Linked DNA regions of Homo sapiens: all the other regions are linked to region 2. Evidence: promoter capture Hi-C in 16 types of primary human blood cells and fetal thymus (Javierre and others, 2016). All regions are on one chromosome and are shown on one strand. The core of a region is centred on a gene start or on the middle of the fragment in contact, and the rest is flanking DNA. Distances in the headings are between cores, read along the strand shown. Region 1 overlaps GNAQ (G protein subunit alpha q). Region 2 holds the start of CEP78 (centrosomal protein 78). Region 3 overlaps GNAQ (G protein subunit alpha q). Region 4 holds the start of LOC107987081 (a long non-coding RNA gene). Region 5 overlaps GNAQ (G protein subunit alpha q). Region 6 overlaps GNAQ (G protein subunit alpha q).

Region 1 (4,750 bases), core at 1,190-3,689, 270 kb after region 2:
AAAAACGTACATAGCAAAAATTTTGCTTGTAGGTAATACGATCCTAGTAAAATAGAATTTACATTGTCTCTTATAGTTTGTTGTAATAACATTTTGTAATAACAGTTTTTTTGCGATGTAATTGATACTCAGTAAGCTGCACATATTTAATATGTAGAATTTGATGTTTTGTCACTTACATGTGTCTATGAAATCATCACCACCATGAAGATAACAAATATATTCATCAAACCTGAAGGTTGCCTGTGCCTCTTTTTTATCCTCCCTCCCACCTATCTCCCCCTCCAAACACTGATCTGATTCCTGTCACTGCAGACTTACTTGTATTTAGTTACGTTTTACACCTGAGGGAACATACAGTATGTCCACTTTTGCTTGCCTTTTTCCACTCAGTCATTTTTAGATTCATTTATGTTGTTGTGTGTCAATAGTTCGCTCCTTTTTGCTGAGACATATTTTGTTGTATGGATGTACTACATTTTCTTTATCCATTCATCTACTGATGGAGACTTGGATTGTTTCCAGTGTTTGGCTACGACAAATAAAGCTGCTGTGAACATTCATGCATAGGTTATTGATAGATACGTGCCTTTTTTTTTTTTTTTTGCTCGGAGTAAATCCAAGGACTGGAATGGCTGGAACACATTACCAGGGGTATGTTTTACTTTTTAAGAAACTGCCAAGCTGTTTTCCAAAGTGATTTTTAATATTGTGCAGTGTATGAGAGTTCCATATCCTTGCTAGCACTTGGTATAGTCAGTCTTTTAAAAAAATGTTGCCATTTTAAATGGGTGTGAAGTATCTAATTGTGGTTTTAATTTGCCTAATGACTAATGTTGTTGAGTAGTTTCTCATGTGCTTTGCCATCTGTATAACTTTTTCGATAAAGTGTGAAACCTTTTACTGATTTTTTTTCCTTTGGATTACTTGATTTCTTATTTTTTTTGTGTATTAATATTTTCTGGATACAAGTCTGTATGTATGCTTTGCAAGTATTTTCTCCTTGTCTGTGGTTTGTCTTTTTATTCTTTCAGTGTCTTTTGACAAGCAGTTTTTAATTTTGATGAAATTCAGTTTTGGTGTTAATTTGATGGATAGCTGAGTATGATGGGCTGGTGGTCGTAGTTAATTTTAATTGTATGGGAAGTTGAATGGTTTTTGAGGGTGAGGGGACAGGGTTGATTCGTGAGGATTCTGTGGGTGTGGGTGCTTTATATAATTATGGGTGTTGATTGGTGGTAGTTGCTGGTTGAACATTGTTGGTGTTTATGTTGTGATTGAAATTACTCAGGGTAACAGGTTAGATAATTCAGAGTAAAGTAAAAAAGGGTGGAATAAAAAAAGAGGAAATAAAATTTAATTAGGCCTTTTTGAGTAGTTACAGTAATGGAGGCTGTGATCTGGGTTTGTGAAATTGTTTTTGGTATAGACTTTTCTAGTCACATTAGGTCTAATAGAAGTGATACCAGGTTTTGGCTTGTGGATAGGCTTGAGTGAAGGGTTGTACAGTGAATTGTAATTGAGTAAAAGCCCAGTATATTAGAGAAGTTGAGTATTTGTAATGGGTATTTTATCTTAAGATTATTAGTTATAAAAATGAGTTCTGTATTTTTAAATACAGGTGTCTGGTACTACCTATTTACCTCTAAGTACAAGTCAGTGGTATTTCACACTTAATATGTTGTTTTCATTATTACTTAGTTTCTAATACTTTCTAATATCTATTTGATTTTTTTCTTATGTGTTACTTAGAAGTGGTTTTTCTTGTTGTTTTTGTTTTATTTTTAGTTTGCAGATATTTGGAGATTTTTCTAGGTATCTTTCTGTTACTGATCTCTAATTCCATTGTAGTCTGAGACCATATTTTATATGACTCTTCTAAAATTTATTGAGACTGGTTTTATAGCCCAGAATATAGTTTATCTTGATAAATGCTTCAGGTGCACTTGAAAATAATGTTTTTCGTTGTTGTTGGGAAAGCAGCCTATGTCAGTTTGGTTAAGTGGTTAACAGGGTTGTTAAAGTCCTCTATTATCTTTGATGTATTTCTCTCTACTTGGTTTATTGCTTTTCTCTCTACTTGATCTATTAAGTATTGAGAAAGGGGTATTAAAATCTCTGAGTATAATCGTAGACTTGTCCGTTTCTCTCTGCAGTTCCATCATTGTTTGCTTCTCATATTTTGAAGCTTTGTTATTGGATACATAAACATTTAGGATTGTTATGTCCTTTCGATAAGTTAACCGGTTTATCATTATGAAATGATTGTTTTTATTTCTGATAATATTATTTGCATTAAAATCTGTGTCTGTTATTAATATGAGATGACTTCAGAAATTTTGTGGAAAAATTGATTAAAAGATAAAAAGTATTAACTTCATTTCCCAACATAAGCCCCATCACGTTCGAGACACTTTTGTAAGCAATGATACTAGCCATGTAGTCCATTCCTAAAGAATTGAGGGTCCTGATGATTTAACCATGTCAAGGCAGTCTTTTTTACATTATTAACTGTAGAAAAATGGGTGCCTTTTAAATTTTTTTTTAAGATTAGAAAACAAAAATAAGTCAGAAGAAGCCAAATTAGGACCATAAGGTGGATGCCTAATAATTTTCTGTAAAAATTCTCACAGAATTGTCCTTTTTTTGATGAGAGGGAACGAGTAGGAACATTGTTGTGGTGAAGCTTTCCCAGGCATTTTTCTGTTAAAGTTTTGACTAACTTTCTCAAACCACTCTCATAATAAGCAGGTGTTGGTGTTCTTTGGCCCTTCAGAAAGTCAGTGAGCAAAATGCCTTCAGTGTCCCCAAAACCTTTTGTCATGACCTTTGCTCTTGACCCTTCTGCTGCATTTGCTTTGACTTCCACCTCTTCGTAGCCATTGCTTTGATTGTGCTTTTTTTTCAGGATCGTACTGGTAAGGCCATGTTTCATTTCTTGTTATAGTTCTTCAAAGAAATGCTTCAGGCTCTTGATCCTAGTTGTTTAAAATTTCCACGGAAAGCTCCACTCTTGACTGTAGCTGACCTGGGCACCCACTGAGTGAAAAGTTTGCTAAACTTTAATTTTTCAGTCAGAATTATGTAAGTTGAACCAATTGAGATTTCTGTGGTGTCGACTGTTTCTACTGTTAATTGTCAGTGCTTTTCAATTAGGGCAAGATTAATTTTTTCCTCACAAATTGATGTGGATGGTCTGCTGTTGTGGGCCTTATCTTCAGCATCATTTCATCCGTTCTTAAAATGAGCTATCCACTTATAAACTGCTGATTTCTTTGGGGCATTGTCCTCAAAGTGATTTCACCGTTCTTCCACGTGAGTTTCACTATAAATTTGGCATTTGTTCTTACTTCAATTTTAGCAGAATTCGTGTTGTTCTGATAGTGGCGTTTTTCAAACCAGTATCTTCTTATTCTTAGTGCCTCAAACTAGATCCTGTTCAGATATGTTATAACAAGTCTGTATTTTGGTACAAACATTTTTGAAATCCATGCATAGTTTTTTCATAATACACATTTTCCATGCACTGTTTTTTTTTTTTTTTTTTTTTTTGAGACTAAGTTTCACTATTGTTGCCCAGGCTGGAGTGCAATGGCGTGATCTTGGCTCACTGCAACCTCTGCCTCCCGGGTTCAAGCAATTCTCTTGCCTCAGCCTCCCGAGTAGCTGGGATTACAGGTGCCTGCCACCATACCCGGCTAACTTTTTGTATTTTTTATTAGACACGGGGTTTCACCATGTTGGCCAGGCTGGCTTCACACTCCTGACCTCAAGTGATCCGCCCGCCTCGGCCTCCCAAAGTTCTGGGATTACAGGTGTGAGTCTCTGTGCCTGGCCTTCCATGCACTTTTTGAAGACCTCTTGTATATATCCACCATAGTTTTCTTCTAATTAGTGTTAGCATGGTGTATCTTTTCCCCTTCTTTTATTTTTAAACCATTTTTATCTTCATATTGAAAGTGTTTTTTGTAAGCAGTAAATAGTTGTGTCTTTACATGTAAAGTGTCTTTCTCTCTCTGGCTGCTTTTAGGATTTTCTCTCTGTTACTGGTTTTCAGCAGGATGATTATGAACTGCCTCATGTAGTTTTCTTTATGTTTCTACTGCTTGATGTTTGTTGAGGGTCTTAGATCAATAGTGTTATAGTTTTCATTTAATTTGGAAGATTTTCAGATGCTGTTTCTTCAAATATTTTTCCTTTTATATTCCCACCTTTCTCTCTTCTTCTAGTACTCAAATTCCAAGTATATTAGATAACTCGATTTTGTTCCACACTGAGACTGCTCGTTTTTTTCTGTCTTTTTTTCCCTTTGTGCTTCATTTTTGATAATTTCTATTTTTGTGTCATCAGGTTCACATATGTTTTCTTTTCAGTCTCATCTGCTCTTATTTCTATCTGTTGTATTTTTCATTTTAGATACTGTATTTTTAATTGCCAGAAGTTCATTTGGGACTTTAAAAATACATTCCTTTCTCTTTTCTTCATGTTTATGTTTTCCTCTACATTCTTGAGGTGGTGGAACCTAACTAGTACTGCTTTTTAAAAAACATCCTTGTCTTCTGGGTCTAAATTTATTGAGCTTTCTTGGAGTTATGGGTCACCTTTTCCTGTTTCTTTATTTGCCTGATAGTTTTGGGTAAGATGCCAGACATTGTGAATCTTACATTGTTGATTGCTGGATATTTTGGATTCCTTTGAAAAGTGGTGGACTTTGTTCTGTCATGCAGCTGATTTACTTGGGATCACTTCA
Region 2 (4,687 bases), core at 1,410-3,909:
GAGGTACAGAACAGTTCCTGCACCTGAATGAGATGTAGAGAATAATCTGACTTATTTTCAGAAGCAGATGTGTTGAACTGTCCTTGCAGAAGAGATGGTGCTAACCCCAGAGCCTAGAAAAGGGCCGGGCACACGACAAGTGGTCAGGTTGTTTTTAAATACATCAATAATCATTTCCTCTCCCAGATCGCACACCCTCCCTCTTTCTCTCAGCTTATAAACATGTTCACGTCCATATCCACTTAAAAAACACCTTTCAGACCTACAATTATCTGGATCTTCTTTGTGGGTAATCTAGGTCCCTCCCATGCCTTCAAATACCTGTCCTCCCACAAAGCCTAAATCTTGGGCCCAGATCTGCCTAGCAGACACATTTGGATGCCCCACAGGCCCCTCTTAAAACATTAAAGACAAACTGAGATCCTCCTCCCACCCCCAATCTCATTCGAGTTAACTCGGCTGTGTCATGGAAAGACGCTGCTGTGTTTCACTTACAGACGCTGCTGTAAACTGTCACCCATACTTGCTGCCCCCCTCTTCTAACTAGTCACCACGCCCATCCATTCTCTTAGATATCTGAAATCCTACCCTTCTTTTTTTTTTTTTTTGAGACAGAGTTTTGCTCTTGTTGCCCAGGCTGGAGTGCAACGGTGCAATCTCAGCTCACTGCGACCTCCACCTTCTGGGTTCAAGCAACTCTCGTGCCTCAGCCTCCCAAGTAGCTGGGATTACAGGTGCCCGCCACCACGCCCGGCTAATTTTTTTTTTTTTTTTTTTTGTATTTTTAGTACAGATGGGGTTTCACCATGTTGGTGAGCCTGGTCTCGAACTCCTGACCTCAGGTGATCCACACCCCCCCGCCTTGGCCTCCCAAAGTGCTGGGATTACAGGCATAAGCCACGGTGCCCGGCCCCAGCCCTTCTTTTCTATACCTTAGTTTGGGCCATTAGATTACAATTCACCATCCTTCCAATTTTAATTTGTCTTCCATATGGAGGCTAGACTGAGCTCCTACGGAAATTCCATCTCATCATCCTACAGCGGTTTCCCAAAACCTTCAGGATAAACATCCAACTCTATGACAGGACAAACGAGGACCCTCCCTGTTTGGCCCCCACAAGGTTTCCAGCCTCAACTCTCTCTGCTCTTTCTCAAACCTAAATTCCAGTCCTGTAACTCAGCTTGCATACTCTCTCCTATTTCCAAAACTTTTGCACAAACTGTTCCTTCCTGTTACCTAGCTAGCGTCTATAGGAAGCTGCCTCCATTATGTAGAAAATGCTAAGTGCTCAAAGGAATAACAGCATTTTGTCATATATCATAGTTGACCTAACATATTTTCCGAATAATCAGAGAGTCTGGATCCCTAATTATACCACTATACATTTACAAATGGCTTGTATTTGTAAAGCACTTTACAAACTTCTTATATACACCTTAAAAAATGAAGACAGGCCGGGCGCGGTGGCTCATGCCTGTAATCCCAGCACTTTGGAAGGCCGAAGCGGGCGGATCACCTGAGGTCAGGAGTTCGAGACCAGCCTGGCTAACATGGTGAAACCCCATCTCTACTAAAAATACAAAAATTAGCCGGGCATGGTGGCGCGCGCCTGTAATCCCAGCTACTCGGGAGGTTGAGGCAGGAGAATCACTTGAACCCGGGAGGCGGAGGTTGCAGTGAGCCGAGATCTTGCCACTGCATTCCAGCCTGGGCGACAGAGTGAAACAGTGTCTCAAAAAAAAAAAAAAAAAAAAAAAAAAAAAGACAAAGGCTGACATGTATTAATTTCCTACCTGCTTAGTTCTCTATCAGGCAAATCAAAGTCATTCAATAAAATAGGTAACATCTGTCAAATGTTTAATGATGTCCCAAACTGTGCTAAGAGCTCTGCAGGCATCAGCAGCGCAGGGAATCCTTGCGAAGGCGCACATAACCTGGGTCTCGTTATTAAGCCCATGTTACGGATGAGCACACTGAAGCCCTAGAGACCTTAAGCCACTCACCTAGCTCGTGAGTGTCCAGGCCGCACACCCCTTCTATTGCACACATACCCCGACAATGGACACCACTCACCTAAAAACCCACTTCGCCGCACCGACTGAGGGGCCCTGGAGGCGGGAACTACAAACCTGTGTCCCCCAGCCAGGGCTGGAAGAAGCTCTTGATGGAGACCAAGGGCAGGTCTTTATTGATCTTGAGGGTGCTCAGCAGAGGCGCCCAGTCCACCCCGCGGAGGCGGTCGGCGTTGAAATCCAGCACGCCCTCCCGGAGACAGGCGCGCACGGCGGGCAGCGGCACCGAGTTCTGCAGCGCGCACAGGTACTCGTAGTGGGAGAAGAAGTCCGCCGCGCTGTCGCGGCGCAGCTTCACGGAGTCGATCATGGCCCGAGGGCGGCCTCGGGGGATGCCCGCCGCGGAGACGCCGCCCGCGCCCACCCAAGAACGCTGAGTCGCAACCCGGCCGCTCCGGCACCCACGGCCAGGCGATAGCGGCAGCCCCGCACCGGGCTCAGGAGCGGTGATTCGGTCGGAAGACGCAAGGCCAGAGCCCCAAGCTAGGCCGGCCCCTCAACGCCCCACTCCCGCGCTGCCTCCCGCCCTGCGGCCCAAGCAGTTGGCGCCCGCCTCATAGTCCTCTGAGGCGCCGGGATTCAAGCCGGTGGGCGGTGCCGTGGAACGGTGCGCCAAGACGTCAACGTGCTCGCTGTGCGTCGGCACGCAGGTCCCGCCTCCTGAGGACGGGTGAGTTCGCTGCTACCTGAGATAGTGGTCGGGAGAGTTTGAGGGTTTGCGAAAGAGTTTACTGATCGATCCGAATAAAAGTGAAATGTGTGGTCGGGCGCGGTGGCCCACGCCTGTAATCCCAGCACTGTGTGAGGCGGGGGCGAGCGGATCACCTGGGGTCAGGAGTTCGAGACCAGCCTGGCCAACATGGCGAAACCCCGTCTCAATTAAAAATACAAACATTAGCCGGGCATGGTGGCGGGCGCCTGTAATCCCAGCTACTCGCCTGTAATCCCAGCTGAGGAAGGAAAATCGCTAGAACCCGGGAGGCGGAGGCTGCAGTGAGCCGAGATCTTGCCATTGCACTCCAGCCTGGGCGACAAGAGCGAAACTCCGTCTCAAAAAAAGAAAGAAAATAAAAAGTGAAATGTGGATGTAACAACGCACTTTTAAAAAAAGTCTAAACATCTGAGGAATGTGTCTGTGCTTGCAGTGTCCAGCCAGCACAGAGACTGCACTCAAGGGATGTGGGAACGGCTGATTGAACGTGAACTGCGGTCATTAAATCTTTTATGTCTGTGTTAATATCTACAAATAAGCCTTAATTTCTGTAGTTTCTGCATATCTCACACGGTTCCTGGCAAATTGAAGAGTGTTTCATGAATTCAGGACTTTATTGTGTTTGCTGTGAATCAGTTTGTTTTGTACTGACGATGATGTTGGCTAACTCCCTTGTAACTAGTACTTATTTGAAATAATGTCCTCGGGATTATTTTAAGCAATGTTTAAGTATGAAATCATTTCATTCTCCTAACATCTCAAGGAATATACTATTATATTCTACTTTACAAAAGGGGAAACTGAGGAACGGGGAAGTTAAGTGGAAGCTAAGTGGAAGAATCCAGATAATTGACCTCTCCTTCTATTGGTATGCAATTGCTAGAGCAATGATAGTCCTCCGGTAGAGCCTTAGACATTGTGTTTATTGCATTCCTGTTCCACCCACTGCATTCCGGATACTCCAACTTACTTCCAACACACATATGCAGGCGTCTCTAAAATTCCGGAGATATGGTCACCAATTATTTTTATGTGCGACATGCTCAAATCTTAATATAGTAAACGCTTGTATATTCATAAACCAGCTTAATAAATGAAACATTACCATTCCTGTTGAAGAGCTTTGTGTAACCACCTTCCCAATCACGACTACTCTCTGACTCTGAGATAACTGCTCTTCTGAACTTGGTATTCATCGTTGCAATGTATGTCTTTATATTTCTGCTACATATGTAAGTAAGCAGTATATAACATTCTATATTTTCTTTTCCTACTTTACTTATCGTTACCTTTACTAGGTCCATCCGTGTTGACATATAGAGATATTCATTTATTTTCCCTGTTGTTATATGGGAGTTCCATGTAGAAACATACAGTAATGTGTCTGTTTTTCTGTTGATGGTAATTTAAATTGTTTCCAACTTTACGATTTCTTTGTTGCTCTATCCATTTTCTTTCTAGTCTCCAGCATCAATTAATGTAGTGTCCATTACCTTTTTAAAGCTCCCTCCTCCCTGTTTCCCATGAAGCCACCTGATTTCTTTTTCTTTACCTCTCGAATTTCTTCTTCTCAGTCTCATTCTTTGGCTTCTCTTGCATATCCACTCTAAATATTGCTGTTCGTCAGGTTTCTACCCTCAGCTTTCACCCCTTCTGACATTTTACAGTTTCTCTGGGTGTTCTTGTCTTCTGCTCAGCCTTAACTTCCCCACTCTAGGCAGATTACTTCTAACACAGATAGATCTCTTCATCCATTAAATTGCCCCCTAGAAAGCCAAGATTTCTCACTGCCCTCAGTGTCAGATCTATGTCACGTAGCTTGACATACAAGCTCCTTCATAATTTGACTATCTCTGTTGTCTCTCTCCTTGCTACATTCTTCCTGGCATGTCTTCTCTAGAT
Region 3 (4,892 bases), core at 95-2,594, 300 kb after region 2:
TGCATCTCTTTATGACGTAGTTGGATTCTCCCAAATAGCCATTTGGAAATGATACTTTCAAGAGTCCTTGCTGGGTGGTTTAATGCCAATAATGAGACCCCCCAGCAGGTACTATGGTTTTTGATCAACATCAACATTTCCCCCCAAGAGAGAATTTTAAACTTTAAAATGTGAACAATGCAGAGGTTTGGCTTGCTTGTACATGTGTGTTCTAATCATGCTCTTTTTCTTCCTTTAAGAAAAGGGAAGTATTTCTTTGGGTATAATTTTCTTATTTTTTTGAGACAGCATCTCACTCTGTCGTCCAGGTTGGAGGGCAGTGGTGCAATCTTGGCTCACTGCAACCTCTGCCTCCAGGGTTCAAGTGATTCTCCTGCCTCAGCCTCCAGAGTAGCTAGGACTACAGGCCCACACCACCATACCCTGCTAATTTTTGTATTTTTAGTATTGACGGGGTTCCACCATGTTGATCAGGCTGGTCTTGAACTCTTGACCTCATGATCCACCCACCTCAGCCTCCCAAAGTGCTGGGATTACAGGCGTGAGCCACCGCACCCGGCCCTAATTTTCCTTTTAACTGACTATTAGATGCCACATGAACAGTGGACTTCTAAAAGTCCTTAAAGGTCAGTAACTGCTCTGCATGTGCAGATTCAGTAACTTTTGTTTTCCATGATACTTTCTGTCTTCCAGATCCTTTTGTGGTTGTATGCGTATTAGGCACACTTGGAACATATATAAGTCCTTCTTAGTATTCTCAATGTCATTATTTGAAATTACTGGGATAATATTAGCCCAGAAAGCATGCCATGTTCTGCAATCTGAAAATCTGCGTATTTTTTGAGACTTCCTAGATCATTGCTTCTCTTAACTGGGGCAGTACTTGGCTGGCTCCCTCTAGCACCTTAATTCCCCTACCTTGAAAGATAATTATTTTTAGAGGCTCAAAGTGAAGAGCCACGTGAGTAAAAGCAAAAAAAAAACTTGACATATTAACCTTGAAAGAAGACTACTGTAGTTTTTAGTCAACTTATTTGAATTATTATTTGAATATATACTAAATACTAGGTGACGTTCTCGTGAGAAATTTAATAGTTGTTAATGCTGTTTAACAATATAGAGAGAGGGAAAATGATCATAAAATCCAACGCTGGAGAGAACCCTTGAGGTCATCCAGGCCAATTCGCTCATCCTCAGCTCTCATTGGCCAAGTGGCTATGTGCGGATCGTTGTCTCCTGTGGGCGGGCTGGGAGGGCCCCTGACTTCAGCTGATGTTCTTTCTGTGCCGCACCTCTGCCTGTAGCTGATCTCTTGATGAATATGCAATAAGGTGGAAAATGGCATTTCAAATCCATCTTAGGCCTTTTCCTCTGTTATAAATGTAATTTGTTGTTCTCTTTTGAGGAGGGCCACATGAGCTGTTCTATCCTGAGGAAGTATTTGCAGGGTTAATAAGGAAATTCAGAGTGCTTTTCAAAAGAGCGTCCCATAATTTCCCAGCCGCTGCATTTTTAAAGTGTGCAATTTATCTTTATGTGTGACCTAATAATCTGGATTGCGTGTGTCACGTTTTTTATTATCTGGAAAAAAAATGTTAAATTCTGTGGGTGGTGTATTAAGTTTGAAGGGTCCTCGCTGCTTAAAATCTGTTATTATTATGACTTTATATTTTTATATCTTTCTGCTTCCCAAATAATGTTCAGGGAAGTCCCGGTTTTCTCTAAAAGAAGTGTGCATGTATCAATGGTGCCACTTTTTTTTTTTGAGACAGGGTCGTACTCTGTCACCCAGGAGTGCAGTGGTACAATCTCAGGTCACTGCAACCTCTGCCTCCTGGGCTCAAGTGATCCTCCCACCTCAGCCTCCCGAGTGTCTGGGACCACAGGCGTGCACCACCCCGTCTGGCTAATTTTTGTATTTTTAGTAGAGATGGGGTTTCAACATGGGCTGGTCTCAAGCAATTCACCCACCTTGACCTCCCAAAGTGCTGGGATTATAGGCATGAGCCGCCGCTCCTGGCCAGATGATGCCACTTTATAAATGTGTGTGTGTGTGTTTGTGTGTCTGTGTGTGGAACTTAGAGACCAACAAGTTTCTTACCTTTTCTTTAGCTAAGGAGATTTATCTCATAGGAAGTGAAATTGCAAATCAGGTTTTGCAGCCTGCTCTGACTCACACATTAGCAGAAGACGGTCAGTCATGTCTGTGTCCTTGCCTTTGAGGCCCAGAGAATGTAGGACACAAATCGCATCCTCTGTTTCATCCTCCGTGGGTAGTCTCCATGTCGATGCAGTGAACTTTCTAGGTGTACGAGAGTGCTTTTCATTGGGATGAATACACATTTCAAACTTAACCTCCTCTCTTTGCAAACTCTTTCCTCTTCAGGCTTCTCTAAGAATCTAGTGCCTCCATCCATCAAGCCAGAAATCAACGAGTTCTCCCTATGTCATCTCCTCCCTTTTTCACTTCATCCATCTCCAAACTATCCCTCCCCTTGTCAGCCCCACACAGACTTTTTTAGGATTTTTTTTTGTTTTGATTGTTGGAATACCCTACTAATTTGTTCTTAACAGTCATCCATTCTTTACCTAGCATAAATCAAGGCCTGTTACTTCACTGGTTCAGACTTTCCAAGGCTGTCCAGTGCACTTAGAATAAAATCCAACTTGTTTCCTAAAATATAATGCTCCAGGTGACTTGGCCATTGCAACTGTAGCCTGTGCTCCTGCCGTGCCTCCTACCTCTGCCATCCAGCTGCTGTGCCACAACCACACTGACCCTCTTGTACCTGCAACATGCCAGCTAAATATGTTCCCACCTCAGCCTCCAAGTCAGCTGGTCAACTGCTTGGAATGCTGTTTCCTTCTAATTTTCTTGTTGCGGGTTCTTGAATATTAGTTTTAATGTACCTTCTTAAGAGGGTATCTCAAAGCAGCAGTCAGGTCACTCTGTATTTCATTGTCGTTTAATTCTTTAGCGCATAGCACTCATCTCCATTAGATATTTTATTATTCATCTATCAATAAATCATCTGCTCACACTTGCATGTTACCTTTGTGACAGTAATGACTGTGTCCTGCATCCTTGATACTGGAAGAATGTCTGATATGCAATCTATATCCAATAAAATTAAGAATAAACAATTCAAGCTAAAAATCTCCAAACACTATGAATTTAAATACTGAAATGCTGGTGATGGTTATCTCAGTTATTTTGGGAATGGAGAATTTGAGTCAGGGCTGAGACTAGATAAGGTGAATAAAAGCACTTGCCACTGGATCAAAACCAAAGGCAGCTTCTTAGGTGCCAATATGGTGCAACATAGTTCTGTTAATGATCCTGTCTTTATTTTATTCTTTGTGAATTTTGGGTATTAATTTTGACTTTTAAAAGTATTGCATTAAAATATTATTTCTCTTGACTACTGAGGTTTTGTTGTCCCCCCACCCAACCCTGCCCTGTAGCCTTTTATCAGACTACTCTCTCATTTTTGCACTTGATTTTGCATTGTAAATTATAGCTAACATTTATTGTCTATTTCCTACCAGGTACTGCTTTACTTGGATTAACTAATTGAAAACTCAGAGCAGAGCTGTAAACTAGGTGGTGGTATTTGCAGATGAAGAAGCAGGCTTAGAGAGGACAGGTAATTTACCCAAGGCCACAGGGCTATTAAGAGGAGGAACTGGAATAGGTAGCATATGCATAATATGTAGGTAGGAATAGATGTATAAAGTGGAAGAGAGATTAGAGTCTTTAACTTCCTGGAATATTTTCACTACTGTTCTTGAGAGTTCTTTTTTTTTTTTTGAGACAGAGTCTCACTCGCTCTGTCACCCAGGCTGGAGTGCAGTGGCATGATCTCGGCTCACTGTATACTACGTCTCCGGGGCTCACGCCATCCTCCTGCCTCAGCCTCCTGAGTAGCTGGGACCACAGGTGCTTGCCACCATGCCTGGCTAATTTTTGTATTTTTGGTAGAGATGGGGTTTCACTGTGTTAACCAGGATGGTCTCGATCTCCTGACCTCGTGATCTGCCCGCCTCGGCCTCCCAAAGTGCTGGGATTATAGGCGTGAGCCACCGCACCCAGTGAGAGTTCTTTAAATAAATTGGCAGTGAGCAAAAGTCTAATGCTTAGGGATGGAAATGCGGACCTGCTGGTTGTGTAAGGAAGAGAAAAAGAGGGAACAGAATGAATGTCATTGAGATGCTTGTAGGACAGGGACCGCTGTCCTACAAGCATCTCAATGACATTCATTCTGTTCCCTCTTCCCATTTTGTTCCCATTTTGGCAACAGAGACCAGTTTTTTGGGCAATTTTTCCAGGGATGGGGGTCGGGTCGGGGGGTTGGTTTCGGGATAAGACTGTTCCACCTCAAATCATCAGGCATTAAATTCTTACAAGGAACATGTAACCTAGATCCTTCGCATGCACAGTTCCCAGTAGGGTTCATGCTTCTATGAGAATCTAATGCACAGGAGGGCATAGCTCAGGCAGTAATGCCTGCCACTCTCTTGCTGTGCGGCCCGGTTCCTAACAGTCCAGTGACTGGTGCTGGGCTGTGGTCCTGGGGGTTGGGACTGCTGCTTTAGGACACTTAATATGCTTCATATATTTTTTTGATCACCATTTAGCAGCACATTAGAGGATATGAAAAAATTTCCTATTGAGGCCAAACACTCCTGAGACCCTGTGACCTTAAAGTATGTAATGACTTTGAGAAAAAGTTTTTTAGTAAAAAAATCACTGCACACCACACATCAAAATATGTATGTTTATTTTGTTAGTTAATTGTAAAAGGTAAAACTTTGAAACCTAGAATAAAATATATATGTTTGAGCCTTTTTAAAGACATAAATGAAAGAAATCACTAAAGGAAAGCTTATAT
Region 4 (4,935 bases), core at 1,829-4,328, 320 kb after region 2:
CGGTGGCAACAGGAATCTTTCCACAAATAACAAAAAGACCCTCCACAAATAATTCCTCCTGCTTTTATTTTCAAGGGTGAAAAAGAACTGTGCAAGTTTGTGAGCCCAGGAACATGGTAATTGAGCCAGAGTAAGCTGCATGGATATATCTAAGTAGTCTGAATTTGAAAGGATCAGGGTTCTCCCTGCCCCAAGAAATCTCAGTGGTTTCTGAAATCGTTAGCATGCTTGTTTCCTTGTAGTTGTAATTGTGTTGAGTTTGTTTGTTGTTTATTTTTTTAATACCAGCGAGTTTTCCAGTTTACGGTCAGTTAATAATATGATGATCTGATGAATTCTGCCTGACTTACCATGTGTGTGCTATTTGTTTTTTATATATACACACCACACTGCCAGTTTACACACTAAAATATAATCTCCCTGAATTTTATCCCCCAAAATCTTATTTCTTAGATGTTCCAGAAGAATCCTTCAGGACCTTGCCCTGTTTTAAGACAGGACCTTGCCCATATGAAGATCATTTATTATACAGTCATGTAGATGTTAAAGATGGGGTGGAATTTATGCCTTATTCATGTAACACATTGAAGAATATTTAACAAGTTATTTGAACTTTTCATGTCAATTCTTTTTTTTTTTTGAGACAGAGTCTTGCTCTGTCATCAGGCTGGAGTGCAGTGGCGCGATCTCAGCTCACTGCAATCTGCGCCTCTCAGGTTCAAGCGATTCTCCTGCCTCAGCATCCCAAGTAGCTGGGACTACAGGCGTGCACCACCATGCCCAGCTAATTTTTATATTTTTAGTAGAGACGGGGTTTCACCATGTTGACCAGGTGATCTTGATCTCTTGATTTCATGATCCGCCTGCTTCGGCCTCCCAAAGTGTTGGGATTACAGGCATGAGCCACCTCTCCCGGCCTCATGTCAATTCTAATTAAGTAGACATTACTGTGTTGAATACTATTCAGTTATAAATTGACATCATAAAACGTTACAATATATGAGTTTTCCTCAGATACCATAATTATCCTCATAAATCCTCCTACATATCATGACTTTAGTGTGATGACCTCCCAGTTTCCCATGTTTAACCACCTTTCATTCATATTACAAATGACTTTCACGTTTGTTTCTTTTTCTCTATATCATATACATGTTCTAAAGCGTCATTTTCACCTTGCTTCATCCATTAACTTTCTGAACTCTGCCCACTTGTTGCCTTTGTTTATGCTTGTTAAGGACATCATGTCTACTCCTTCCTGTTCAGCTCAGCTGCCTCTTCTTCCGAGAGTTCTCTGATAGCTTCCCAGCCCCTCATAGTGCTAAGTAATCCTACTGTTCTTTAGCATATCCATAGCGAAGTGTTTGTAATTGCCTAGCTTGTATTGATTATGGTGACTTGGATGTTGATCTTATTTTCCTCACTAGATTCTGAGCTCCTTGAAAGTCAGTCTTCATCAGTTCCATCTTTGCATTCATTCTTCATTGTCCCTGGCATTATATCTTGTACATAGTAAGTGCTCAAAAAATACATCTTTTTGAATAGGTAAATTATTTGTGGCCAGGTATGGTGACTCATACCTGTAATCCTAGCACTTACGGAGGCTAAGGCGGGCTGGTAGCCTGAGGTCAGGAGTTTGAGACCAGCCTGGCTAGCATGGTGAAATCCTGTCTCTACTAAAAATACAAAAATTAGCCAGGCGTGGTGGCACATGCCTGTAATCCCAGCTACTTGGGAGGCTGAGGCAGGAGAATCGCTTGAACCCTGGAGGTGGAGGTTGCAGTGAGCTGAGATCATGCCGCTACGCTGCAGCCTGGGCAACAGAGCAAGACTCCATCTCAAACAAAAAAAATTATTTGTGAGCTTAACAATTGAGAGTCTCCTCGTCTGCCCTAAACTTGTCGAAATGATTATTCAAATCAACAAATAACTCTTGAAATCTGTATGCATAAGGGAATAAATGCTATATACTGTCAGGGATACAGAAAAGTTTAATCAGGGCTGGGCAGAAATTTACAATCCAGAAAGGGAGAAGGGCAGATCTGAGGGAGGGGCACATTGGGGAGAAGGAATGGCTATAATAAATGATCAGAAGAAGGAATTTGCATGGGATGTAGAAATCTGCCAATTTAGCTTGAGTGGAATTCTTATAGAGGAGGACTAGAAAATGGTTTAGGATGTTTCATGAAAGATTTCACATGCAGGCTAAATTTGGATTTTATTTTCTTGTGTTTATTATTTTAATAATAATATTTTATGTTTTGGTTAGAGTTTTCTATGGTTACAAAGGTATATACTTTATAATTTATAAATAGTCTAAAGAATTTGGTGTATATTTGATTAACAGTTACATGGAGGTATCACATTCTGATTTATATTATTGTGACACTAAAGATATAAAATAAATAACTATTTTGGAAATTTGGCTTAAAAACATAACCATTTGGTTTTTAGTAAAGCTTCTCTGCACCCACCATCACATTGGCCATAATCTATAGTAGCATAAATAAAGATACTTTCTAATATTGTCCAGCATAACTTTGTACTTGCTTTTGAGCTCCTGTATTTTATAAAGCAAAACATGGCCTGTACATTATATGAGCTCTTCTGAACTGGGAAAGTGTTCAGTTTTGTTTGCTGTGAAATTGATTCTGGCTTTTGGAATGCCACCCCAGAGTAACTGAGGTTTCTGTTGCTCCTGCTTACTTGTTATTGCTTGAACCGAGAGTCCTGCCTGGTTAGCTGGCCGGAGGGTGCTGTGGTCAGGGGGAGTCCAGTTCACAGTCTCTGGACCAAATGGTGTGACATTGCATGCCCTTTGTCAACAGATTGCATAATTAGTAAGGAGCTTGTAATTGCACATTTTACCAAAAGAAAGATGAATTCTTCCCCGAGTGTGTATCTGTTGTCCTGTTCTTGTACTTTTTGCCAAACAAGCACTGTTTATAGGTGAGCTGCTTGGACTCAGCCCAGGTGAGAGAAGACATACGTCTTAGGACTTCTGAATAGTCTGTGAACTAGGGTTTGTTTATTCCTAAATATTATTTTGCATTTTCCCTGAACACAAATATTGATAACTAGTGATAAAAAGGGATTAAGTATTTGTCACTCGGTCAAATCAAAAGCCATATTTAAGGCTCTACTAGGTGCAAGGGCATTTGACTGTGAGATAACTGTGTCATTTCTTAGTTTACAAAAGAAAGAATTTTTATCCCTGTTATTTTATGGCTTCCTTTTTTTTTTAAGTTTATTATTTTAAAACTTTTACTTTAGGTTCAGGGGCACATGTGCAGGTTTGTTTATAGGTAAACTCGTGTCATGGGGGTTTGGTGTACAGATTATTTTGTCACTCAGGTACTAAGCCTAGTACCCAGTAGTTATTTTTTCTTACCTTCTTCCCCCCCACCCTCCTTCCGCCCTCTTTATACCGATGTGCTTTTCTGATGGATCTTTGCTTTGGTGTTGAAATCAGCTCTTAATTAAAAAGGAAAGGATATAAAGTGCCTGTGTTTATGTGGCCAAGGAACTGTCTTTGAGTTACAGCTGAGGGAGTGGATCTCAGGGTTTGGAATCCTTGATTTTTTACTGTCTGAACTTGGCAGTTGGGGTTCTTCCTGCGTTGCCTGTTACTAGTTATTTCATATTTGTTTGCCTTATTTTCTCAGATTGAAAATTATCTTACAGTAAGCAAGCTTCTTCCTTTATAATTCTTTATCTCCTCCGTAACATGCCAGACATGTTGTAGAAGCTTTTGTTTATTGAGTGAATTACTCCAGATAGCGGATCATAGTATCCTTTGATAGTTGGCTTATAATCTCTATGAACTGTGAAATAAGGGTGGTATTGTGGCAATTTCAAAGTATTGATAGGCCATTGCTCTCTTTGCCAGTCCTGGGAAGAGAAAAGAATCTGATACAATGCTTCTTCATGTAGTGAATTTTAAGACAGTTGTCTAAGAGAACTCCGCCTCACCTTGGGCCAATGTTGAGTGGACAGTTGCACCTTTTTTTTTTTGTAAACCAGTTTTTCCTTTTAGACTTGAAAGTCCTGATAACCAGGGCTTATTTAGCACCTTGGCTGCAGCTGTCTCTGACAAACTAGCCAGGCGTTTTGAGGCCTGACACCTGTGTTTCCCTTTCGCCTAGCATGGAGGGGTTATGAGAGGATGTATTGCTACAGTGCCTTTTGTCCTCTCTAAGCAATTCTGAGAAAGAACTTGTCACAGGAAAGTACCTCGTTAAACACATTTGACACTTTCTGAATTTTCTGTACTTCCTGAATAATCCAAGGTCCCAGAAGCCATTTTTCATTTTCCTGAAAAATGTAGCCAGGATTCTGGAAAACTTGCCAACTTATTGTTGCCCTTGATCAAGGAATAAAACATTACTACTTTGTGCAACATGAGTGAATTTTCTTAGTTTACAAAATGCCAAAAGGCTGATTTCATTTTAGTATTTCCCACCTAGATAATAAATACATAATAGAGGCAGAATTAATAAATACATATTCTTATCTACCCCTCTGAAGAGCTCTATCAGTCAAGGTTCTCTGCTTGCAAGCAACAGAAACCAACACTGGCTAACTTAAGCAGAAAATGAATTTATCTGAAAATGGACTCACTGGGAGAAGGGAGTAGAAGCTGAAGGATGGCCTCTTAGAAACTAGGGCAGGCTCAGAGAACTCATCTGTGAAATGGATGAACTCTGGCCATTTCCAATCTTCTGTCACCCACCTAAGATTCAGATTTCTGGGAAAAAGTGCCGATTTGGAGCAGCCTGGATTCTGTGCTAAGTCTTTAGACAGGGGAAGGCTCAACAATATGATTGACAGCCCCTGAGGGAAATCTGGGTACAGTTGGTGGAAGAAGGGGAATGATGGTGTTACAAATTACACATCTTCACTGCAAAAATACACAGCGTGAAAAATAAAGTGACA
Region 5 (4,592 bases), core at 388-2,887, 340 kb after region 2:
AGAATTGCTTGAACCTGGGAGGCAGAGGTTGCAGTGAGCCTAGATCACAGCACTGCATTCCAGCCTGGTGACATAGTGAGACTGTCTCCAAAAAATATATATATATTTTTTCTATTAAATATATATATAAAATATATATTTTTTTTCTATTAAATATATATATAATATATATATTTTCTATTAAATATATATAATATATATTTTCTATTAAATATATATTATATATATTCTATTAAAACAGTGTATTATTAGCAATACTGCTTCTTTTATGACTTAAATGAAACATTTAAAATTTAGTTATATTTTAAGAATACTGTAATACCCTTATCTATGTAGTACAGATAACAGAGAAATAACATGAAAGACATGGCATTCTGGAAAGAAGAGTTTACAAACCAGACATCTCGATTGGAATGCTAGCTTTGTTACTTATTTGCCATGTGAGATAATTTCTCTAGGACACATTTTCCTCACCTCTAAAATGGGGGACACTAGAAGAGCCCTGAAGTCCTCAAGCAGTGCCTGGTATGCCGGAGCCATTCTGAAATCATCTCAGAGAAAATGTATTTCGAGAGTTTAGCATGGTGTCCGCAGGTGAGAGTGGGGAGGAAGAAGGTGTCAGACAAGACTGGGGCCCCTGCAGGGAGAGCAGACTTCACCTCTAATGGATGCTGAGGCTGTACCCTCTAATGGCTTAGTTGCAAGGACCTGATTTCCTTGAATTCTTCTTCAGGTGCCAAATAGACAAGAATCCATAAATTTACTTAAAGCTTGTACTATAAGTACTTGTATGACCTACTAGTTCATCTGTTTTCCTTACAACCCAGCTTTTCCTCATTGTTACCAGAAAGGGATCCCCATCCAGACGCCAAGAGAGGGTTCTTGGAGCTCGAGCAAGAAATAATTCAGAGTGAGTCCATAGAGTAAAGTGAAAGCAAATTTATTAAGAAAGTAAAGGTGTAAAGAATGGCTACTCCATAGGCAGAACAGCAGCATGGGCTGCTCAACTGAGTATGCTTATAGTTATTTCTTGATTCTGTGCTAAACAAGGGGTAGATTATTTATGAGTTTTCCGGGAAAAGGGTGGGCAATTCCCAGAACTGAGGGGTCCTCCCCTTTTCAGACCATATAAGTTAACTTCTGAACATTGCCATGGCATCTGTAAACTGTCATGATGCTGGTGGGAGTGTCTTTTAGCATGCTAATGTGTGATAATTGAGCAATGAGGATGACCAGAGCTCACTTTCACGGACATCTTAGTTTTGGTGGGTTTTGGCTGGCTTCTTTACCACAACCTGCTTTATCAGCAAGGTCTTTATGACCTGTATCTTGTGCTGACCTACTGTCTCATCCTGTGACTTGAAGTGCCTAATCTGGGAATGCAGCCCAGTAGTCTCAGCCTCATTTTACCCAGTGACTTCAAGATGGAGTCGCTCTGGTTTGAAACCCTTTGACATCATGACCCTGTTGAAGCTTTCCAAGCCTAGTAGATTATCCATAAAGTGGGCAGTTTACCCTTAGATAATTAAGTAATGGATGGAACAATAAAACCCTTTGACATTTTGATAGAGTTATCTTACCTACTACATTCAAATATGCATATATTCCACCCATTGTTTCTTAATTTTATTCCTATTCAAGAGGTGAAGGAAAAACTTTGAGGAGCTTCTTGTTTACCAAACATGACAAGGGATTTTCTTTCTTTTCAAAGTATGTATTATTTACTAGTTTCCAAAAGGGATCATTCAGTGTTTTTAATCTCCTCATAGATTCTTATCTGTGCCCTATAAATGAAGCTTTTTTCAAGTGAGAATGAGTAGCATATGTTTGATTTCCACGTCATTTATGCCACAGAATAAAGCCCAGGTCATGTTAATATTCAATAATGCTCTTCAGCTTCTATTTTTAACAAAACATTGCTTATGACTGTTGTTAAAGATCACTCGCAGCACCGAGGATTTCACATCTCTGAATGAACTTTTTATGAAATTCACTCTTGTAAGATAGAACATCATATATATATTCTGAACACTGTCCATGAAAGTGGGCATTGACCTAGAAGAAACCAGTGTGGGTGTGATAGAAACCAGTATTGAACCTATGAGAAATCCAAGACAGTGTCCTTCTTTGTGTTTATTTTGTGTTTGATAATCAGTTGCAGTGGTTGTGGGCAGAGCTGGGAGCCTACTTAATGCATTTACATGGCATAGGGAGTGATAGAAGGTACTTGTGAAAGGGGAAGAGCTGCAGAGGAGTGAGGAGGATGGGTTCCACACTAGGGCTGGAAAGCCCCATGAAGACAAAGCAGGGGAGAGAGGCCCCACTGTGACAGATAACGTTTCAGAAGAGCTCAGTGGACTCAAAATCCATGCACTAGGCTAGATTTAAGAATCCCTAGATGCCATAGAAGGACAACTGAAACTAGAACCTAGTATGTTTTAAAATAATAATATAATTTGCTGCTCAAGACCTATTAGCAAACAAACAAACAAAAAAACAATCTGGGGGGTGCTTTCTGGTTACAGAATCTTGGCTTTTGAAAAAAGGCAGGGTTTGGTGAAATTAGTATTTAAAGGCTTATTTCTCATCTTGTTTCATGCCTGGGGCGATGACCTGGCTTCAAAGCTGTAGTTCAAAGGGGTTTGTCCACAAGGATTAGTTGCTTAGAGTCTAAAATGTGCTTGAAGGGGAAAAAGAAAAAGCTTAGACACTAAAGGAATACATGCTAATGAAATCACACTGGAAGAGTGAACAGCAAGCACTGCACACAGTTGTTTGGTCTGTGTTATTGATATGGAGGCCTTGCTAATGAGAACTAGTACGGCTTTCAAAGCTCTGACCTCACATATCTAATAGGGCAAGCAAAATGGAAAGACAGCGTATACTTGGGGGCAGTGAGTGGGCCTCAAAGAAGTGGCAAAGGCAGGGCCCTCAGGCTGGGGTGTTGAGGAAGTCCTAGATGACAATCGTATAATACATTCATATAAAGACAGAGCAATAGCAACATGTCCTCAGCCTTACAAAAGGAACTTAAACGTGAAATTTTCTTCCAAATTATGTGGTGGCAAGGTCAGTAAATTGCTTTATTTTTAAGATGTAAAATTAAAATAACCATTTCCCGATCTCCTACTTCCTCCCCTCCCCAAAAAACAACCTATTTTAGGTAAAGGAAATAATTCAACAAAAATATACAGAAACTATTTAAACGTGCAGAGAAAAGATAAGAACTGCTGCTACGAAAGAGAGCAAGAGATGGAGAGGAGAACGTGTGATAGGGCTGGCTACTGAGAATAGGCAAGAAAAAGAATAATTTAGATGAGAATATGTATGAGGATATATAAATGGCAAAATGGATACAGTAAAAAAATCAAAATAAGGAAAACTAAAGGTTCTCATTTTTGCTTAAGTGCTGACTTCAGTGCATTTTATATTTGAATATTATGTTAATGAATTAGAAAGTTAAGCCCTGAAACAAGGATACATAAAGTAAGAAACAGATTATGGAAATTTAAAACACTCTCTTGCTATACCATATCTTTTGCATTTCTTCCTTCTCCTACTCCTCCAGGGAGACAGAGTCTCACTAGCTTGCCCATGTTGGTTTAGAACTCCTGGCCTCAAGTGATCCTCCTACTGGGATTGTAGGCATGAGCAACTAAACGTGCCCCACCTATACCATGACTTTTGAGTAAGATACTACCATCTGACGAGTCTCTGGGCAAATGATTGAAAACTAAGTATCCTGATCATGTCTCCTCAATGCATTTTTGATGGAATTTTTGTTACTAGAGCTATGCTGTTGTTTTTTTAGACAGAGTTTCACTCTTGTTGCCCAGCCTGGAGTGCAATGGTGTGATCTCGGCTCACCGCAACCTCCGCCTCCTGGGTTCAAGCGATTCTCCTGCCTCAGCCTCCCAAGTAGCTGGGATTACAGGCATGCGCCACCACGCCCGGCTAATTTTGTATTTTTAGTAGAGACGGGGTTTCTCCATGTTGGTCAGGCTGATCTCGAACTTCCAACCACAGGTGATCCTCCCACCTCGGCCTCCCAAAGTGCTAGGATTACAGGCATGAGCCACTGTGCCCAGCCTTGCAATGCAGTTTTATGACACGTTTCTAATTCTCATATTTCTATGCCCCCTCTATTTTCAGGATGAAATAAGAACATTTAGAAAATGAATGCTACTAAAGCTTTCTTAGGCATAGCTTAAGTAATGCCAGATGGCTTCGATAAATTATTATGAAGTCTTTCAGTCAAACTCTCAAGTTTTTTAGGGGTCTGGAAGAAGTACTGTGGAGGATTCTAGGAGTATGGTATGCCAACCCAAATAACCAATACAAAGATATGTGCGAATCGGCAATTACATTGGGAACAGAATTAAGATACATTATAACTAAGATAAAGTATTTCAAAATTTAAACATTTAAAATAATTTTTAATAAAGAATAAAGTAGAAAACTTACAAACCCATGTCTATTTGAAGGATTAGCTATTATGTGTTTTGTAAGCGAGTAGATAAAAGGAGTAACTAACTTGTAGTTTTACTTGTTTTTAGTATGCATATTATAGAATGTTTGCATGTAAAATTAAT
Region 6 (4,908 bases), core at 2,123-4,622, 370 kb after region 2:
ATGTAAACATCTATTATAGCAACTTTCTCAGTTTAATATCTGTTCCTCTTCTTAACAGTAAGTTCTTCAAGGATAGGGTTACTGTATCTTAATCATTATATTCCTAGCACTGGAAACTGTAGCCAGCACAGAGTAAATCTTTAGTAACCATTGACTCAGTGAAAGCTTTAGTGAGCATTGCTACAACTAATTATAATCAGCCTCACCCAACTCTGTATTACCATTTTGCAGCACTTGCCAACTCAGTACTTCATAGACTCATACAACACGAGAGATGGAGTGATTTTTAAGGAGACCTAATTTCCTTTTTTACGGGTGAAAGAAAGCTGAGATCCAGAGAAAGGATTGACTTGCCACGGGACAGAGAGACTGTGACTGGCAGAGCTGGGCCTGGAACTCTGAACACCTTGTGGTCAGGCATGTTCCTAGCCACTCCTTGCTACTGCTTACTGACCACTCAGCCACCTCTCTCCAGCAATTAAATTTGTCACGTGGTTGGTGATGCTGCTCTTTACATATAACAGCTCCATGGACTTTGCTCCTTGGTATTTACAATGTTTAATTGGGTTGCTTTGAAATAACATTTATCTGACAAAGGCTGATATCTAACCTAGTCAGAAATTTCCTAAAGTTTCAGGATACAGATTATGTGATACAGATAGCTTTCTTACTGCATGAGTTTAGTAATTTCATAAAATCACATAGGTAAGGATGAGAAAAATGACTCTTTATTCCCATAGTACTGTAAGTCACATGTAGTTTCTTGAAATGATATTCTGAAAAAAGTATTCACCAAATGCCATCATTTTGAACTCACTTTATACTGACTCTTGATCTGATGATTGGCCTCAGTGGCCTTTCAGGTAGGAAAAGAAGTATGGAAGAGCGGAGTGAGCTGTTTGTTAAGTTAAAAGAAATTCATAGATTACTGACAAATGTGGAGTCATTCTAGGTTTTAATAAATTTGACTCCGTTTGCAGCTTAGGGTGAAAAGGGGTTAATTTTCTTTTAGTAGGTGAAAAGGTGTTAATTTTCTTTTTGATGGGGAAAAAGCCAAATGATAAGGTAGGAGGGATACATGATTCCAAATTCCAACAAGGGCACACTCAAAATACTCTAGAGTAGGGTTTAAAGAAGCTGTCTCCAAAGGCATGGGTATGGAAACCACCAAGGAGATTTCATGATGTGGTAGAAGACAGTCTGTTTCCTCCCCAGGCCTGAAAGGAGAACAGTGAGCAGAACCAGAAAAGAGTGTGTTCATTTCCTATTGCTGCTGTAACGTATTACCACAAGTTTAGTAACTTAAACCATTGGAGACATCTGGAGGTCAGAAGTATGAACTGGTCTTACTGGTCAAAACCCAAGTGTCACTGGGGCTACATTCTTTTCTTGGAGGCTCTAGGGGAGTGTCCGTTTTCTTGTCTTTTCCAGGATGGTCCCACATGCATTCCTTGGCTTGTGTCCTGTTACTCCATCCTCCCACGCAGCAGCAGGGATCAGGTCCATCTCACTTTGCATCACTCTGACCTCCTCTGCCTCCTTCAACTTTAAGGACACTTGTGATTACATTGGGCCCACTTGGATAATCCAGGCTAATCTCCTTATCTTAAAGTCAGCTGATCAGCCACAATAATTTCATCTGCAACCTTCCCTTTGCTATGTAAAGCAACTGCTATGGTTTGGATATGGTTTGTTTGGCCTTGCCAAGTCTCATGTTGAAATTTGACCCCAAGTGTTGGAGGTGGAGCCTAATGGGAGGTGTTTGGGTCATGGGAGCAGATCCCTTATGAATGGCTTGGTTTCCTCCTCCAGTAATGAGTGCATTCGCGCTCTGTTAGTCCCTGAGAGAACTAATTGTTTAAAAAAAAAAAAAAAAAAGCCTGGCACCTTCCTCCCCTCTTTCTTCCTTCCTCTCTTGCCATGTGGTGCCTGCTTCCCTTTGCCTTCTGCCTTGAGCAGAAGCAGCCTGAGGTCCTCCCCAGATGCAGGTGCTGGTGCCATGCTTCTTGTACAGTCTGCAGAACTATGAGCCAAATAAACCTCTTTTCTTTATAAATTACCCAGTGATGTGGTTTGGCTGTGTCCCCACCCAAATCTCATCTTGAATTCCTACGTGTTGTGGGAGGGACCCAGTGGTAGGTAATTGAATCATGGCGGCAGGTCTTTCCCTTGCTATTCTCGTGATCATGAATAAGTCTCATGAGATCTGATGATTTTAAATACTGGAGTTTCCCCTGCACAAGCTCTCTCTTTGCCTGCTGCCAGCCATGTAAGACATGACTTGCTCCTCCTTGCCTTCCATCATGATTGTGAGGCCTCCCCAGCCACGTGGAACTGTAAGTCCATTAAACCTCTTTTTTTTTATAAATGGCCAAGTCTCAAATATGTCTTTATCAGCAGCGTGAAATGGACTAGTACGGTAAATTGGTACCAATAGAGTGGGGCACTGCTGAAAAGATACCCGAAAATGTGAAAGCGACTTTGGAACTGGGTAATAGGCAGAGGTGGGAACAGTTTGGAGGGCCCAGAATTAGACAGGAAAATGTAGGAAAGTTTGGAACTCCCTGGAGACTTGTTGAATGACTGACCAAAATGCAGATAATTATATGGACAGTGAAATCCACGCTGAGGTGGTCTCAGATGGAGATGAGGAACTTGTTGGGAACTGGAGCAAAGGTGACTCTTGTTATGTTTTAACAAAGAGCCTGGCAACGTTTTGCCCCTGCCCTAGAGATTTGTGGAACTTTGAACTTGAGAGAGATGATTTAGAGTATCTGGTGGAAGAAATTTCCTTCTTTCTCTTCCTTCCTTCCTTTCTTCCTTCCTCCCTTCCTTCCTTCCTTCCTTCCTTCCTTCCTTCCTTCCTTTCTTTCATACGGAGTTTCATTCTTGTTGCCCAGGCTGGAGAACAATGGTTCAGTCTCAGCTCACTGCAACTTCTGCCTCCCGGGTTCAAGCAATTCTCCTGCCTCTGCCTCCCAAGTAGCTGGGATTACAGGCATGTGCCACCACACCCGGCTAATTTTGTTTTTAGTAGACAGGGTTTCTCCATGTTGGTCAGGCTGGTCTCAAACTCCTGACCTCAGGTGATCCTCGTGCCTCAGCCTCCCAAAGTGCTGGGATTACAGGCATGAGCCACCGTGTCTGGCGGAAGAAATTTCTAAGCAGCAAAGCCTTCAAGAAGTGACTTGGGTCCTGTTAAAGGCATTCAGTTTTATAAGGGAAGCAGAGTATAAAAGTTCAGAAAATTTATAGTCTGACAATGTGATAGAAAAGAAAATTCCATTTTATGAGGGGAAATTCAAGCCCGCTGCAGAAATTTGCATAAGTAACGAGGAACCAAATGTTAATCCCCAAGACAATAGGGAAAATGTTTCCAGGGCATGTCAGAGACCTTTTCAGCACCCTCTCCTATAACAAACCTGGAGGTTTAGGAGGGAAAAATGGTTCCATGGGCCTGGCCCAGGGTCCTTCTGCTGTTTGCACCCTAGGAACTTGGTGCCCTGTGGCCCAGCTGCTCCACTAGTAGCTGAAAGGGGCCAAGGTACCACTTGGGATGTGGCTTCAGAGGGTGACAGCCCCAAACCTTGGCAGCTTCCACATAGTATTAGCCTGCATGTGCACAGAAGTCAAGAATTGAGGTTTGGGAACCTCCACCTAGATTTCAGAGGATGTATGGAAATGCCTGAATGCCGAGGCAGAAATTTGCTGCAGGGTGGGGCCCTCATGGAGAACCTCTCCTAGGGCAGGGCGGAAGGGAAATGTGAGGTCAGAGCCCCCACACAGAGTCCCTCCTGGGGCATTGCCTAGTGGAGCTGTGAGAAGAGATCCTAGTGGAGTGACAAGAGATCCTCCAGATCCCAGAGTGGTAGATTCACCGAGAGCTTGCACCATGCACCTGGAAAAGCTGCAGACACTCAACGCATGCCTGTGAAAGCAGCCAGGAGAGGGGTATACCCTGCAAAGCCACAGGGGCAGAACGGCAGAACTGTCCAAGACCATGGGAGTCCACCTCTTTTTTTTTTTTTTTTTTTTTTTACCCCAGACAGAGTCTTGCTCTGTCCCCCAGGCTGGAGTGCAGTGGCACGATCTCAGCTCACCGCAACCTCCGCCTCCCAGGTTCAAGCAGTTCCCCTGCCTCAGCCTCCTGAGTAGCTGGGATTACAGGTGTGTGCCATGCCACCACGCCCGGCTAATTTTTGTATTTTTAGTAGAGATGGGGTTTCACCATGTTGGCCAGGCTGGTCTCGAACTCCTGACCTCGTGACCCCCTGCCTCAGCCTCCCAAAGTGTGGGGATTATAGGCGTGAGCCACCATGCCTGACCTCATGCATCACGCATCAGTGTGACCGGGATGTGAGACATGGAGTCAAAGGAGATCATTTTGGACCTTTAAGATTTGACTGCCCTACTGGATTTTGGACTTGTGTGGGGCCTGTAGCCCTTTGTTTTGGCCAATTTCTCCCATTTGGAATGGCTGTGTTTACCCAATGCCTGTACCCGCATTGTATCTAGGAAGTAACTAACTTGCTTTTGATTTTACAGGCTCATAAGCGGAAGGGACTTGCCTTCTCTCAGATGAGACTTTGGACTGTCTGAGTTAATGCTGAAATGAGTTAAGACTTTGGGGGACTGTTGGGAAGGCATGATTGGTTTTGAAATATGAGGACATGAGATTTGGGAGTGGCAAGGGGCAGAATAATAATGGTTTGGCTGTTTCCCCACCCAAATCTCACCTTGAATTCCCATGTGTTGTGGGAAGGACCTGGCCGGAGGCAATTGAATCATGGAGGCAGGTCTTTCCTGGGCTATTCTTGTGATAGTGAATAAGACTCATGAGAACTGATGGTTGTAAACACTGGAGTTTCCCTGCTCAAGCTCTCTCTCTTTGCCTGCTGCCATCCATGT

Evidence for each region. The method cuts DNA at HindIII sites, captures the fragments that hold promoters and counts their contacts. A CHiCAGO score of 5 or more calls a contact.
Region 1: a fragment that was not itself captured here is called in contact with the fragment with the promoter of CEP78 in region 2 in 1 of 17 cell types (total CD4 T cells); the score reaches 5.5 in total CD4 T cells.
Region 3: a fragment that was not itself captured here is called in contact with the fragment with the promoter of CEP78 in region 2 in 1 of 17 cell types (monocytes); the score reaches 5.9 in monocytes.
Region 4: a contact is called between a fragment that was not itself captured here and the fragment with the promoter of CEP78 in region 2, in 5 of 17 cell types (naive CD4 T cells, non-activated CD4 T cells, naive CD8 T cells and 2 more). The highest score is 6.6, in naive CD4 T cells.
Region 5: a fragment that was not itself captured here is called in contact with the fragment with the promoter of CEP78 in region 2 in 1 of 17 cell types (non-activated CD4 T cells); the score reaches 5.3 in non-activated CD4 T cells.
Region 6: a fragment that was not itself captured here is called in contact with the fragment with the promoter of CEP78 in region 2 in 4 of 17 cell types (monocytes, total CD4 T cells, M2 macrophages and 1 more); the score reaches 6.8 in monocytes.

What each region holds. Positions count from the first base shown.
Region 1 is chr9:77,961,695-77,966,444 of GRCh38, reverse strand. The region is part of intron 1 of GNAQ (G protein subunit alpha q); the gene reads left to right. Among named protein-coding and RNA genes, the nearest start is that of GNAQ, 68 kb to the left of the region's middle. The HindIII fragment of the contact is 498 bases long and covers 2,191-2,688 here.
Region 2 is chr9:78,234,047-78,238,733 of GRCh38, reverse strand. CEP78 (centrosomal protein 78) reads right to left here and starts at 2,659. Exons shown (of 17, transcript NM_001330691.3): 1 at 2,131-2,659. The coding sequence starts at 2,383. RefSeq lists a silencer at 2,266-2,635 and an enhancer at 2,261-2,930. The HindIII fragment of the contact is 10,697 bases long and covers 1-4,687 here.
Region 3 is chr9:77,930,514-77,935,405 of GRCh38, reverse strand. The region is part of intron 1 of GNAQ (G protein subunit alpha q); the gene reads left to right. Among named protein-coding and RNA genes, the nearest start is that of GNAQ, 99 kb to the left of the region's middle. The HindIII fragment of the contact is 7,087 bases long and covers 1-4,887 here.
Region 4 is chr9:77,915,843-77,920,777 of GRCh38, reverse strand. The region is part of intron 2 of GNAQ (G protein subunit alpha q); the gene reads left to right. It overlaps LOC107987081 (a long non-coding RNA gene), which reads left to right and starts at 1,784. Exons shown (of 2, transcript XR_001746758.3): 1 at 1,784-4,935. The HindIII fragment of the contact is 1,233 bases long and covers 2,462-3,694 here.
Region 5 is chr9:77,889,940-77,894,531 of GRCh38, reverse strand. All of the region lies in intron 2 of GNAQ (G protein subunit alpha q), which reads left to right. Among named protein-coding and RNA genes, the nearest start is that of GNAQ, 140 kb to the left of the region's middle. The HindIII fragment of the contact is 323 bases long and covers 1,476-1,798 here.
Region 6 is chr9:77,861,139-77,866,046 of GRCh38, reverse strand. All of the region lies in intron 2 of GNAQ (G protein subunit alpha q), which reads left to right. Among named protein-coding and RNA genes, the nearest start is that of GNAQ, 170 kb to the left of the region's middle. The HindIII fragment of the contact is 6,410 bases long and covers 168-4,908 here.